3 separate regions of the Homo sapiens genome follow, and all the other regions are linked to region 3. The links are contacts of gene promoters, found by promoter capture Hi-C in blood cells and fetal thymus (Javierre and others, 2016). All regions are on one chromosome and are shown on one strand. The core of a region is centred on a gene start or on the middle of the fragment in contact, and the rest is flanking DNA. Distances in the headings are between cores, read along the strand shown. Region 1 overlaps DHRS9 (dehydrogenase/reductase 9). Region 2 overlaps DHRS9 (dehydrogenase/reductase 9). Region 3 holds the start of CERS6 (ceramide synthase 6).

Region 1 (4,632 bases), core at 743-3,242, 630 kb after region 3:
TTCTTTCAGTCAAGATTCTGGCAGGAAATGGTGGCACATTAAAACTGGGTAAAAGGCAGAGAGTATGCTTAAAGGACTTATAAACATGTGTGAGGTATCTACTGAAATCTCAAAGGATACAATCTAGGGGCTAATGACAGTAGGTGTATTTCTCTTCAGAGGACTGAAGGGACAAGGAGACAGGGCAGTTTCCAGAACCTGGAGACGCAGAGGCTGTTGTTTTCAGTTAAGGGATAAAAATAACCAGTGTTGACACCACAGGAGGATAACTACTCTGACCCCCTCACCTCTTTCCTGATCCCCCACTGGCACTTTCAATAGACTGAACTCAACAGAAGCCAGAGTATACTTAGTGCAGGTAAGATTCCCAGGATATGATGCAGACAGAGGGTGGAGGAAAGGACTAGAGAAGCAAGCGGAAGATATTCAGCTGAGTGGTGCCACAATAGGCAAGTGAGAAGACAAAGTTAGTTATAGTTTTTCCTTTGATTCATCCATTTATTTATTTGACTATTATTTGTTGAAGGCATATGTTAGAGTTTATGATTTATACCATGGACCTAGGTTTAGTTTACTAATAAAAGGTTAAAATTACTCCACTGAAATTAATAAAGATAGAGCAACTTCATTTTGCCATTTGATCAGGTTGCCAAGTTTGATTCTCCTAGGAAATAAGCACAAAAATATTGGAACAATTCTTCCAAAAAACTAATGTGCATTTGAATCACCTGGGGATCTTTTCAAAATGCAGATTTTGATTAAGTGGATCTGGAGAGGAGCCTGAGACCCTGCATTTCTAACAAGCTCCAGGTGCTGCCCATGGTTCAGGGATCACACTTTGAGTAGCAAGGTCATAAAAAAACCTCCATTGGTCTCTTTGGTTGACCTTTGTTTCCACTCTACAACCAGCAGTATCATAATAAAATTGTAGTATATGTAATTAGAGATTTACTCACTTTTAAAAAAGATTTCAACTGAAGGGTTTGTGAGCTTTGCCATGCAGGTATGCCATGCCTAATAGTAATCAATAAAGAGTATTTTTCTTAAATGAATCATGGAACTAGTATTTTAAATGGTGTTATGTAGGTGCGCCACAATCCAGTGTCAGCGTCACAATTTCTATATATAGGAGGGTTTAGGGGCAGCAGTCCATTTGAGAGAGGGTTGGGGCTCCTTAAAACTGTATTTTCCCAGCATGCATACTGATTTAATATGGTTTTTACTTACCTGGTAAGCTTAGTTGGAGGGCGTAAGGCCACTTGTCCCTAGTACGTTATTTTTATGAGTGGGTGGGGAGAAAAGTCTTCCTAAATAGCCTCTTGGCACTGCTACTTCCACAATCTAGAGGAAATTGGGCAACAGGTGAATAAAACAAAAGTAAGTTGGGAAATAATCTTTTTTAATTTTAGTACAAGTCATATACCTTACAGAATATTTCAAGGTCAAGCTAACTTGCATTTTTAGTAAAATATATTTCAAACTTTACAATAATAACGTTGCTAGAAAGCAGAACCTAAGAAAAAATAAATTACATTTTAAGTCCACTAATAGAGCTTTTAAAAATCTTATGGTGAAGAGTTTTATAAAATGAATAAATACTTCCTTATATTATATATTCCTGGTAGGAAAATAAATCAAATTTAGGAAACGACTATTCATATACTGGTTTGCTGTACAGGTGGTCCCTGACTTGCAATGTTAAACATGACTTTTCAACTTTACAATGGTGTGAAAGTGAGATGCATGCATTACAAACTTTTCTTAGAATTTGGAATTTTGATCTTTTACCAGCAGCAATATGTACAATACTCTCTCGCGATGCTGTGCAGTGGCAGTAAACCCCAGCTCCCCGTCAGCCGTTGCAATCACAGGGCAAAGAACTGCTATGCTGCAGGGCACTGTGTGGCCAGATGATTTTGCCCCATTGTGGGCCAATGTAAGTGTCCTGAGGACGTTTAATGTAGGCTAGGCTAAGCCATGATGTTTGACAGGTTAGGTATATTAGATGCATTTTTTGACATAGGATATTTTCAACTTACAATGAGTTTATCAGGATGTGACCCCACAGGAACATCTGTATATTGGTTTGCTTTAAAGAAAGGGGCACCATGATTCCTGTAAAACCTTGATGCCTAGGGAATGAGTAGGCTTTTAGTTTTCTGCTGCAGCATGATATAAAATAAAATAAAATAAAATAAAATAAAATAAAATAAAATAAAATAAAATAAAATAAAATAAAATAAAATAAAACTTGCTCAACAGCATAGGGAGCAGGTTAGTCACATCAGGGATTATCGTATTGTGTCCTTCAGCACATCCTCATTTGTGCTGCAATCTCCTTATGTTGCTAGAATGGAGGTGAACTTGTCCATCCAGGCTATCATTAGTTCATTTCACCATAAGGTGGTTTAAGTACTGATAAGAAACCTGTTCATAACCTGAATGTCCACTTAGTCAATGATGAGAGCGTGGAGAACACTCTAGGAAGAACAACAGTGGACTGGGGGTGGTGTCCACCCAGATCCCTTTCCTGTCCTGCCGTTAACTAGTCCTCACTTCACCACTCTGAACCTCAGTTTCCTCACTTGCAAAATGAAAGGGAGAGAGAATAAGATATTTCTTTCAAATGCACCCAAATCTGTGATTCCATGAAAAGATTCGTGAGAAAATAGTCACTCAAATAGCAAATATTTTCTAAACAAACCCGGATTAAACATCTTCAATGGGTTCTTTTCACAGACGGGACATGAAAGCTTTTGGTGTGCACGTCTCATGCATTGAACCAGGATTGTTCAAAACAAACTTGGCAGATCCAGTAAAGGTAATTGAAAAAAAACTCGCCATTTGGGAGCAGCTGTCTCCAGACATCAAACAACAATATGGAGAAGGTTACATTGAAAAAAGTGAGTTTCCGGGCGGTGCCAATGTCCTCTAGAATTCTTTGTCCTGAACAGCATGAAGGAGATTCAAATACAGATGAAATAACAAGGTTCTGAGTAATACCCCAATAAGGATCTTAACCATGGATCAGGGATCTCCTATTAATTTCAGTGTCATCTCTTGCTTCTGTTTATAAACATTTACTGAGCAATTACAAACTGCCAAGTTATCTGCTAAGTGTCTTATGAATTATATTATTTACTCCTCAAAAACTATTAGAGTAATGAGCAGAGGCTTGAGAAAGTGAAATGTCCTGCTCAAGATTACACAACACCTCCTAGTCATGCCTGGACCTGAGCCCAGGAAGGCAAGTCGAGCCACGGTCTTCACCTTTGCCATACCTCCTCTTTTCCTCAAGCACCAGCTGTACACTTGGCATTAAGGATTTATGGTGGTTACAAAAGATGGAAAAGGTTCAGCCTCTGACCTTTAGTTTACAACCTAGTTGACAACAAGAAGTAACCAAGCGAGAATGTAAAACAATGAAATAATGTAGCACACAATAAAATTAATCCTTTACTTCTTAGGTGTAATCTAACAGCCCAGAAATGGTGCTAGATGGTGTGGTTTCTAATTCCCCAGGGAATTTAGACCAGGAAAAGAGCATGGCTGGTTAAGCCCTAATGGGGCAGGTCAGGTTTGAATAAGAGGAAAGGACAGGAAATAATTACTTGGGTGGAAACTTTCTGGAGCAGGAACACATGGAGGAGAAGATGGAAGACACCAGGAGCCTTCCTGGTCAAGAGATTGAGTCAGAGATGGGAGAATAATAATAAAGATGACATAATGACAACTAACAAATAGTAAATATTTACTATGTACTTGTCACCATTCTAAGTGCTTTACAGGGACACTCATTTAAAATCCCCCAAAAAACTCTTATTATCGTCTTCATTTTATAGAAATAGAGGCATAGAGAATAACTTACCAAAATTGTACCACCAGTAAGTGGAAGAGCTAGATTTGGACCCAGGCAGCCTGACCGTGCCATTTATGCTTGGCCATGGCACTATAATGTGAACAAGGCATTAAGGACTTTGGTTACACTCCTGTTATCAGGCTTTCCCCTCCGCCACAAACTTCTTGGGTCGGTTAAAGTTTACTTGATATTCCTCAAGTACTCACTGACCTCCTGCTTTGAGTTGAGCAGGGTTCCACCTAACTATGGGTAGTTCTTTCCCTCCAAACTGTGCTCAGGCCTCTTAATCAGTGGACTTGGTAAGACTGTCAACTGTGGCAAGGTTCATGGTCAGGAGTTTTCAAGGCAGAGCTGAAAGCCAAGTCAGACCCACCTGGAGAGGTTTTTAAAATGACTGACTCCTCCAACCACCATTACCCTAAACACACACACACGCACACACACACACATGCACACACACAGAGGTACACACATTATCTATATATCAACTGAAATGTCTGGTCTTACAAACATCTTAGTGCTGACATGCCACTATAGGTTTAGAGCCACTGCCATCAAATACTCTACTTTTCAGTTCCTGACTCTGAAGGTTCTATGTAGGTTCCATCTAAGATGGAACTTAATACTTCAGAAACAAAACCCCTCATTTAAAAGAGCTTTCTCTGTTTGATATTGATACCGATACTTTTTAAATGCCTTTGAATATATCACTGACTTCCATCTCCAATTATTTTTGGCTTGGTTCCTGGTTCATGTGTTCTGTCTCAGAAATA
Region 2 (4,896 bases), core at 98-2,597, 620 kb after region 3:
TTAATGTAGGGTCCCTTGGTGCCATTAAAAAATTTTTTTTTCAGATTTCTGGGTGGACCATTTGAACACATTTCTCACAGAAACATAATTTTTTAGTTTATGTCAATAGGTTCCAGTGTTCATTTTTTTTTAAGTGTGGAAGAAATCTCTAAAAGCCACCTGGGTTTTTTTTTTTTTTTTAAACAAAACAAAACAAAAACCAGTTTTTTTTTACTTCAATGAAAAGGAAAAAATGAAAAAGGAATGTTGTGTTAAGTCAACCGGGTTTACAATATTCAAATATACAAGAGGCATACATGTTCAGTGGCTTTCAGTATTCAGAAAGCCATGCAAGAGAACTCCAAAAAGAGAATACTTTAGAAAATCATTGCTCAATGTTTTCTATTTGATGTATTTTGGTAAACAACATAGTTGTTGATTCAACTTGGGCCACAATTGCAACACATTGGAAGTAAATAAAGATTCTACAAACTCCTGACAGTGTGGTTGACTAGCTTTGGTATCGCTTTCTAAAAGGAAACACTTCATGAAGTTATGTGGAAATAAAATCAACTGGTCTGGGAGGAACTATCTAGAAAGAACTCTACATTGCTTATAAAAAGTATACCTCACAATAATATTGAGATATTTTCTGTTCTTTTTTTTAAACTGTGTCATTTATTTTTAAGAAACAGAGGAAGGTGAATAAGAGAAGTGAAATTAAATAATCCTATTTTAACTTTTTTACTAGGAAAACAAACTCAGGAAGAAAAAGAAAAGCAGAAGTGATCAAGGAGAGCGCTCGAGTTGCAATATTTTCCTTTGGCTGCTGACAGGCAGTTACTATAAAGCATTGTGCATGGTGTATGAAAGACAAAACTAGTTCTCCTTTCTTGGTTTCTTTTGAATCTTTGTGATATGGTAGAGAAAGTTTGATAAAGTGTTCTTGTGCCTGCTGTCGACTGATAATGTGTTCATCTCTTTGCAGTTCTTCCTTCTCTTTCACACAGTTTAGAGTTCAGAGAGTTTTAGTTCTGGTCACTCTCTGGCAAGTGACCATAGTTATGACCTCTACTCTACACCAGAAATATCTTGACAATTACATGAGATAAATATTACATAAACACTTCCCAAAACTTTGTAATGTTATCAAAATTGGAAGTGTGAATATTATGTATTATTATAATTGCTATCATCCTTTTGCCCCAGCGATTCAGAGGTCTCAAAGATTAATCCAATTATCACTAGAACTCTGGAGCTACAGTGGAGACTTCCTTCTTTCCTTCCTTTTTTCCTTCTTTGCTGTACAACATTTACTAAACATCAACATAATGCCAAGTATCATACAAGGAACTGGTAATGTAGAGAAGTATATGCAGAGCCCAGAGTTGAGTGGGAATACAGACTGCAGTGGTAGAACAGAATGGTCTGGGTATCAGTCCCGGAATTGCCACTACAACTGTAGCTGGAGCCAATTAAACAGAGCTTCTGAATGTGTTTCCTCCTCTATACAGTGAAGATAATTTTGTCGTAAGGTGTAAATAAGATAAATATTTATAGATCCTAGGAAACGGCCTACAACATGTTAGGCACTCAATGAACCATAGCAGTTATTATCATTCCTCCCTGACTTGGTCAACCAGGAACTTGAGAATCATAGATTTGCTAGGAGGATATTTTGAATTCTGTAGGGTCAGTTGGCCACCCACCAAAGGGTACCCCCAGAGGAGCTGGGGGTCAACAGCATGGGGTAAACCTTGAGGGAGGGAACAGATGGGAGGTGATTGGATGAAGAGATTTGGGTGAGGACACAGAGCCAAACCATATCAGCCTCTTATCCTCCTGATGACAAAAAGACATTTTAAAATATTTATATAGAGGGAAATTAATGCTTGCAGCAGCAGGATATGAGTAATTTTTATAAGTAACCCAACTTTTCCATGAGGCCATTAAAAAAAGAAACTCATCAATGTGATACTACCAAGGAACCAATGACTAAGTTTCCAGAAAAGTAGTTCTAGTGCTATGATATTCTGGACTCCCAACACTAGGAAGTTCTAGAACAGTGGTTCTAAACTGGGGGATATTTTGTCCTCCAGGGGACATTTGGCATTATCTGGAGACATTTTTGGTTTTCACAACTTGGGGAGGGGTGCTACTGCTGACTAGAGAGTAGAGGCCAGAGATGCCACTAAACATGCTAAATGCACAGGACTGACCCCACAACAAATAATTACCTGGCCCAAAATATCAAAATTACTCAGTTAGAGGAATCAATGCCTAAATATGAGCAATACATAGAGCAGACTGCCTCATAAAGTGAAAGTGATTCACCCTGCCATGAAGATAACAAAGTTCTTACTGTAACGGCAGACATTAGGTCACTTCACCCAGTACTCTCCAAGGTAGATGTTGTATTTCTACTTTACAGGTAGGAAAATGGAGGCTAAGAAAAGTTAATTTGTCCGAGGGCCCTCTGATGATAGTGAAACTGGGATGGAACCTCTGCCTGCTTGCTTCTGAGGTCTGGGCTCCTAACTACTGCTCTACTGCCTCGAGCCAAGAGATTTACGCCCTATTAAGCAATTTGTTGTGCGATAAATTGGAAGACACAGCAGATAAGCAAACAACTCAAGCAACCAGGTCAGTTCCTGGAGTTTCTGAATTGTTGGGACCAAGGGGCCGTGCAGAGGTAACCACAGCTGGCGTAGTGTGGTTGAGGTAGCCCTATTAGCCTTTTAGTTGCTGTTACTAATTTATTTCTCAGTGGTCAATGAACCAATTGGCCATCAATCAGCTTTGTGTATAGGTCATGTTCCCATGGCTCTGACCCAGGTTGCTGCTCAGAGTTGGCATCGTGGCTAAAATATTACTAGAGGTCAAAGATATGTGTGTGTTTGTGGTTGATTTAGTCGAGTGATCTAGAGGAATCTGAACCAGCATTTCTGGGCAATAATACTTGAGTTAAGGAGAGTGTAGCAAAACTCTAGGTTAGCATTGGCAGTCCCTAGGATTCAGACTGTAGGCCTAAATGACCCTCAGTCCAGAGCTGTACCTAATGAGGACAATACATTTTAATGTGAGTCCATTCTTAACAGCAAAATTTCCTCTTTGCTTGTCACCAGGGAAAAATGGGTTTGCATAGAAAAGGTGGAGATTGAGGGGGAAGCAGAATGGACAAGGAGTAAAGAGGGAATCCAACTACTTAGATTTGAGCTTTCGTTCTTCTTTGGTAGTTGTAGAGGTGAGCTTACCAAAGCATAGATGACAGGCAATGTGGTATACAAGTTACTACACTCCAAAAGTCTGGGGTTCTTACTTATTTTGTGCATGACATCCAAAGTAGCCTAATAAAATCTTTTCACAGAAAAAAAAGCTTTACTTTCCTTTGCCAAATTTTTAACTTTTTATTCTGAAATAATTTCAGAATTATTGAAAAATTTAGAGACTAGGACAACCCAGATTCCTCAAATATTAACACTTTACCACATCTGCCTTCTCATTCCTCTCTATATACATAGGTGCATGTGTGGTTTTAATGTTTATTTATATACATATCATTATTATTTTCTTAACTGTTTGAGAGTAAGTTGAAGACATGATGCTCCTTACTCTTTAAATACTTCAGTGTGTATTTCCTAAAAAGCAGGCCATGTTCTACATCATCACAGTATAATTATCAAAATTGGGAAATTAATATTAATGCAATACTATTTATCAAATTTTAAGATCTTATTCAAATTTCACTTGCTGGCCTAATAATGTTCTTTCTGAAAAAAGAAAAAAAAATTTTGATCCAGGATCACATATTGCATTTGGTTGTTGTATCTCGTTGGTCTCCTTTGATCTGAAATGGTCCTCAGTATTTCTTTTACTTCATGACTTTGATGTTTTTGAAGAGTACAGCCATATATTTAGAAGCACTGGAAGATGTTTCCCCATGCATAATTAGCTTTGGATGCTCCACAGAAGAGCTGTTGTGTCCTTCCCTGTGTGCCATCTCAGGGGGCATGCGATGTTGGTTTGTTCCATAACTAGTGATGTGAATCCTTATCACTTGGTTAAGGTGGTATCCGTCAGATTTCTCCACTATAAAATTACCATTATTCTCTCTTTAATTTGAAAGTATATGACAGGGAGATTCTTTGAGATTCTATAATGACTGTCTGTCATCGGAATTTGACCCACTAGTTTTAGCATCCATTGATCATTCCTGCCTGAAACCATTGTTGCTATGTCAGTTGCCAAATGGTGATATTCTAATTCCATCATTCGTCTGACACTTATTAGATGGCATATTAATTCTAAGGAAAAATTTCCATTTATCCTTATTTATTGATTGATTTACTTCAGAATGGATTCATGAATTCATATCTGATTTAATGAGTTATTACCCATTATCACTATTGGCTTTGATGCTCAAATTGTCTCTTACTTCGCCAGTGGGAGCCCCTTCCAGCTGACATCTATGTACTAGTGATGTATCTCCAGCATTCGTTGAGCACTTACTTACTTGTAGCATAAGATGCTCCAGGCTTATTTTGTACATTCGCCTCCAAGCTCAGCCCTGATGTTAGCTTTTCCAAAGAACATGAACACAATGTTTAGAAATTGGTTTCTGAGCCCTTGGTATGTTCATTGTTGTTGGAGTGTCATTGTTTCTAGCTCATCGGGTAGATCTAGAAAGTTACCTATCCATTTTTGTATTTACTGACTCATATTAAAAACCAGGAGTTCATACTGATTCTTCCAACTATAATCCCACTCCACAGAGTTCATTCCAGCCTCTCCTTTTTCATATTTGCTACTCCTCCTTCTGACAGTGTGAAGCCTGGCTTCCATCATCCACAGCTTAGTTACAGTTGACCCTTAAACAACACAGGGATTGGGGCGCCAGTGCCCCATTCAGTCGAAAAT
Region 3 (4,533 bases), core at 475-2,974:
GACAGAGGTGTTGTGAACTGCTATGAACTGAATGTGTGTGTCCCCCAAAATTCATATGCTGAAATCCTAGTTCCCAATGTGATAGTATTCAGAGACAGAGTCTTTGGGAGGTAATTAGCTAATGAGGGTAGAACCTTCATGAATGGGATTAGTGCCCTTATAAGAAGATAGGGCACTAATCTGTGTTTCCTCTTTCTGTGCTCTCTGCCATGTGAGGATACACAAGAAAACAGCTGTTTTCAAACCAGGAAGAGGATCCTTGCCAGACACTGGATCTGCCTGCATGTTGATCTTGGACTTCCCTGCCTCCAGAACCGTGAGGAATAAATTCTGCTGTTTAAGCCACCTAGTCTAAGCAGCCTGGACTAAGATAAGAACTGACCTTTGTGTTTAGCAGCATGAAGATCACAGGTGACCTTGGGCAGTTTCAATGCAGCAGAGGAGACAAATGTCCAAATGGAAGTTCAAAAGAAAATGAGGGGAGAGAAATTGGAAGCACCAGTATAGGCCATTCTTCAGTTTCACTTTCAAGAGATAGAGTGGAAAGAGGGGAGGGAAGAGTAAAAGAAACTCCCTCTCTCTGTGTGTGTGTGTGTGTGTGTGTGTGCGGTTATATGCCCACTGGAAAGGTTTAGTATAGCCTACTGGCAGCACCAGGCAGAAAATGAATGTGAGAAAAATGAACAAAAATGCCCCAGAACCATGTATACATGGGCCATGGAATGAATTCACACATGGCTCCTGTATCAATGGGGAAATGCATTGCGGGAGGGAAGGTGCCTGGGTTAGGCCTCACAGGCCTAATGCCTTAAAGGTTTTAGATTCAAAAGGCAGAAATAATGAGCCTGCCGAGTAGCACAGTGGAGGTTCTCATGATGTGCCAGGTCAAAATGTGGTCTAGCAGCCTTTTCAGAGAGGTTAGTTGAGAGGGGTGGTTTTACAGAACGCTGCAGTTGCTATCATCATCATCATCATCATCATCATCGTCATCAAGTAGCAATTAATAATCAAATAGCAATTAAGTGCCTAATTTTTTGTACCACCTCATAAATCAATATAGGGGGGCTTGTTCCCTGGGGGAGCTACTTTGATGAGAAGCAGCAGTATAAAAGACCGGAAAGTCAAAGATTGGGGAAAGGCAGGCGTGGGGCAGAGGCAGAAGGCTCTTGCCAAACCATCCTGCCTCAGTTCCTGATTTTTCACCCTGCCTCTCCAAGCGCGGGAGTGGAGGATCCTTTCCCTCCCACTTCCTCCTTTGCTCTTTACCCCTCCCCCTCCCCCCCCCTTTTTTTTTTTTTGCTGTCCTCCTGGAGCAGGGCTGGTTCTGAAGCTTGGCGGCAGCCCCTACCTGCTGACCCACCGCCTCCGGGCGCACGGGAAGAGGACTGAGAGCCCTGAAACCCCAGCGGGGCAGGAGCCAGCATTCTGAGCATGTGCGAGCCAGCCAGGGGGCTAGGGCGGATTTGGGGGGTCGACTTTAGGTCGTCGCCCTAAGCGCAAAGCGAAAGAGCGGTGAGAGCAGGGGCGGGCGACACTCCCCGGAGCGGTGCCCCTGCGCCCAGGGCGCAGCGACTGCGCCCTGCCCTGCGGGTGTGGGCGAGTTGGCCGCGTGTGTGCCTCGCTGTTTGACGCGAAGACGAGCCAATCAGGGCGGGCGGCCCGAGCTGCCATGTGACGGGCAAGGCGGCCCCTTTCCCCAGCGCGGCCAGAGGGAGGAGAGAACCGGGGCTCGCCGCGAGCCTTCGAGAGCAGCGGCCGCGGAGGAGGCGGCGGCGGCGGGCGGGAGCAGCGGCGGCGGCGGCACAGGCTCGGGGCCAGCCGGGCGCGCATCCCCGGGCGCCCTGCGCGGTGGAGAGCTTGGCGGGCTGCGGGTGCCGCAGGACAGGAGTGGACAAAGCAAGATGGCAGGGATCTTAGCCTGGTTCTGGAACGAGAGGTTTTGGCTCCCGCACAATGTCACCTGGGCGGACCTGAAGAACACGGAGGAGGCCACCTTCCCGCAGGCTGAGGACCTCTATCTCGCTTTTCCCCTGGCCTTCTGTATCTTCATGGTGCGGCTCATCTTCGAGAGGTAAGAAGGGCTGAAGCCCCTCCTCCCCTCCCCCTGCGCACACACACGCGCGCACACACTCGCGCGCTCTCTGGCGCACGCCCCCGCGCCCCCAACGCTCGCGTTCACGCCTCCCAACCTTTGTGTTCGGGGAGGGGTTGCTGACCCCCCTGCCCCGCTGGCTTTCTGGGAGCCAGAAAGGGTCTGGCTTGCCACGGATTTCCTCCCGGGCGCCGGGGAGGAGCCGCGGAGCGTTAGGGTCGCCCCCTGCCCTCCTCCTGGGCCCTGCTCTCCTCCCGGCAAGGGCAGGCGAACAAAGGTGAGCGGTGGTCGGGCTCAGGACCCGCCGCATTCCGCGGGGCTCGCCCCTCTCCGCCGGCGCGCCACGCAAGGCTGCCAGGCAGGGCTTCCCGCCGGGGCCCGCGCCACCCACCTGACAGCCAGGAACGTTCCGGACGCGCGGCCCGGAGGGAGGAGGAACCGCGCACACTTCAATCTTTATGCTCCGGCACACGGATTGTAGGGGTTGTGCTTCAAAAGAATTCGCCAGGGACTTCCTGGCTTCTGGTCGCTGTTTGGTTTTTATCCGTGAAACTATCAGGCCCACAGTCCTGGCAAATAGGGGATAATAGCATTTCAGGTTATTAGCGGTTTCTTTAAAAGAGGATGTGACAGGACGGGTCCACATCCTGCAAAATGGTGATATTAAACTGATAACCCTGTCCTGTGAATAATCATAAACTTCTTTTTTGGTACTCGAAGGCACTTAAAATTTTGAGGAATTGTCATGCAATTGTATAGTTCCTCGGTTTGGTTGGATATCTCCATTGTGTCACATACAAACTTGTGTTATTCTCATGGAATTCGTTTTCGTCGCGAAACTAGATTGTGCCTGCCATGCATTCTCTGGGTGCTACTGAAAGAAAACCAGGACAGCAGCACACTTTTTTTTTCGTAACAGAAAATATTATCTTCCCCTTTCTTGTACCCTCCCCTTCCTCTGCCCAATTCATCAGTAAAGGCTGAATTTCTTAGATCACAAAGTAGAGTTTAGATTGCATTTCTCGCTTCCACTCCGCCTTTCTTCCCCGCCTTCAACTCACCTTGGTTTTGTTTCTTAAGCTTTTGCTGGTACCTCATTTGCTGTTCCTCTTTGCCTGAAAACGACTGTTGAGGGTGGCAGAACGCGTCTTTTGAGTCATTTGCTGCTGGACGAGGCAACAAAGCTTCATGGGGACAAAAAGTATCTTTTGTCTCAGGAAGGTATATTTTTCACCGGACAGTATTGTTGCTTGAAAACGAAGTCAGCTGTTCGCCTGCAGAAATTGACATGCACAAAGCAACAGACTTTAAGACCTATGTTTAAATTATTGGAATCTAATACAGATGTGTCATTGATCCTATACAAAAAAGGATCAAAAAAGTCACAGCAGTGCTGTGAAAAAATGGGTGTGTTTGCAGGTGTAGAGTTACCTCTAGAGCAAATGTTTGGTTACAGAAAATATGAACTCTATACAGTTTTGCAGGCTCTCCAAAAACAAGCAGACTCAGGGATAGCAGGTTTGCTCTATGTTGGCACATAGTAGGGGATCTACACACAATTGCTGAATTATGATAAATTGTGTCTGATAAATTCTGGCTGGGCTCACTTTTAGATAGATAATGCATTTGAAAGAGATGTGCAGTCTTATGTGTTGGAGAACAAAAGCATGATCTGTGCACAAACAGCCGAATTTTCCTGACATCCTCCTTCTCTATGCTGATTCCAGGCTGTTCACTGTGTTTAAAAAAATTAAGTTGTTAGAATGGAGATGGCTTTGTACTTAGATTGTCTCTGCCTCTAAAAAGATAAACACTAATGTGATAGTTGAAAACTGGAAGTTCATTTTTCCTCTTTCTAAACATTTTTTATTTTCTTTCTTTTTTTCCATAATCCCATGACTCGACTTAGAGTTTACATAGAGGGGTGAGCTGCTTTCAATTGTCAGTCACAGCAAATGTCCTCATATTGATATAAAGTGAGTTGGTCAGTTTCCTTCAGGCCATTGATCTAAGTAGAAGAGATTTAATGGCCTGTATGGAAAGTGAAAGTTTATGGTTAATGTTCAGAATAATAATCCAATATGGCACATATGTCACAGAATGCTACTGACTTTTGGAAGACTATCTACTTTGTTTCTTCCTATGATAGCTCTGTCTTTAACCATTCAGACCTTCTCAATTCTCTGAAAATCCACAATTTAGTTGTATCTAGAGTTAGAAGTTCTGCATGTTTCTCCTCTTCTCAAACCTAAATGACATATTCTGGGATCCAACCTGTGACCTTCATCTCAGTAGCATCCATCAAGGGCCTGAATCAATAAAACAGAACCATTCAGTATTATCACTGCTACAACTCACATTCAATGGCCTTCTAGCATTTTGTATATACATCCTTTTCTTTTGCAGTATTCTATAATGTATACGATGATTTTAAAAGCCTG

Evidence for each region. The method cuts DNA at HindIII sites, captures the fragments that hold promoters and counts their contacts. A CHiCAGO score of 5 or more calls a contact.
Region 1: a fragment that was not itself captured here is called in contact with the fragment with the promoter of CERS6 in region 3 in 1 of 17 cell types (M1 macrophages); the score reaches 5.3 in M1 macrophages.
Region 2: a contact is called between a fragment that was not itself captured here and the fragment with the promoter of CERS6 in region 3, in 1 of 17 cell types (monocytes). The highest score is 7.2, in monocytes.

The regions. Positions count from the first base shown.
Region 1 is chr2:169,089,051-169,093,682 of GRCh38, forward strand. It overlaps DHRS9 (dehydrogenase/reductase 9), which reads left to right. Exons shown (of 5, transcript NM_001376924.1): 4 at 2,740-2,903. Among named protein-coding and RNA genes, the nearest start is that of DHRS9, 22 kb to the left of the region's middle. The HindIII fragment of the contact is 1,518 bases long and covers 1,234-2,751 here.
Region 2 is chr2:169,071,845-169,076,740 of GRCh38, forward strand. The region is part of intron 1 of DHRS9 (dehydrogenase/reductase 9); the gene reads left to right. Among named protein-coding and RNA genes, the nearest start is that of DHRS9, 4.7 kb to the left of the region's middle. The HindIII fragment of the contact is 4,011 bases long and covers 1-3,353 here.
Region 3 is chr2:168,454,548-168,459,080 of GRCh38, forward strand. It overlaps CERS6 (ceramide synthase 6), which reads left to right and starts at 1,725. Exons shown (of 10, transcript NM_203463.3): 1 at 1,725-2,071. The coding sequence starts at 1,902. It overlaps LOC102724081 (a long non-coding RNA gene), which reads right to left. Exons shown (of 4, transcript XR_002959433.2): 1 at 2,484-4,533. RefSeq lists silencers at 1,317-1,536, 1,567-1,656, 1,777-1,906, 2,357-2,416. The HindIII fragment of the contact is 1,842 bases long and covers 1,329-3,170 here.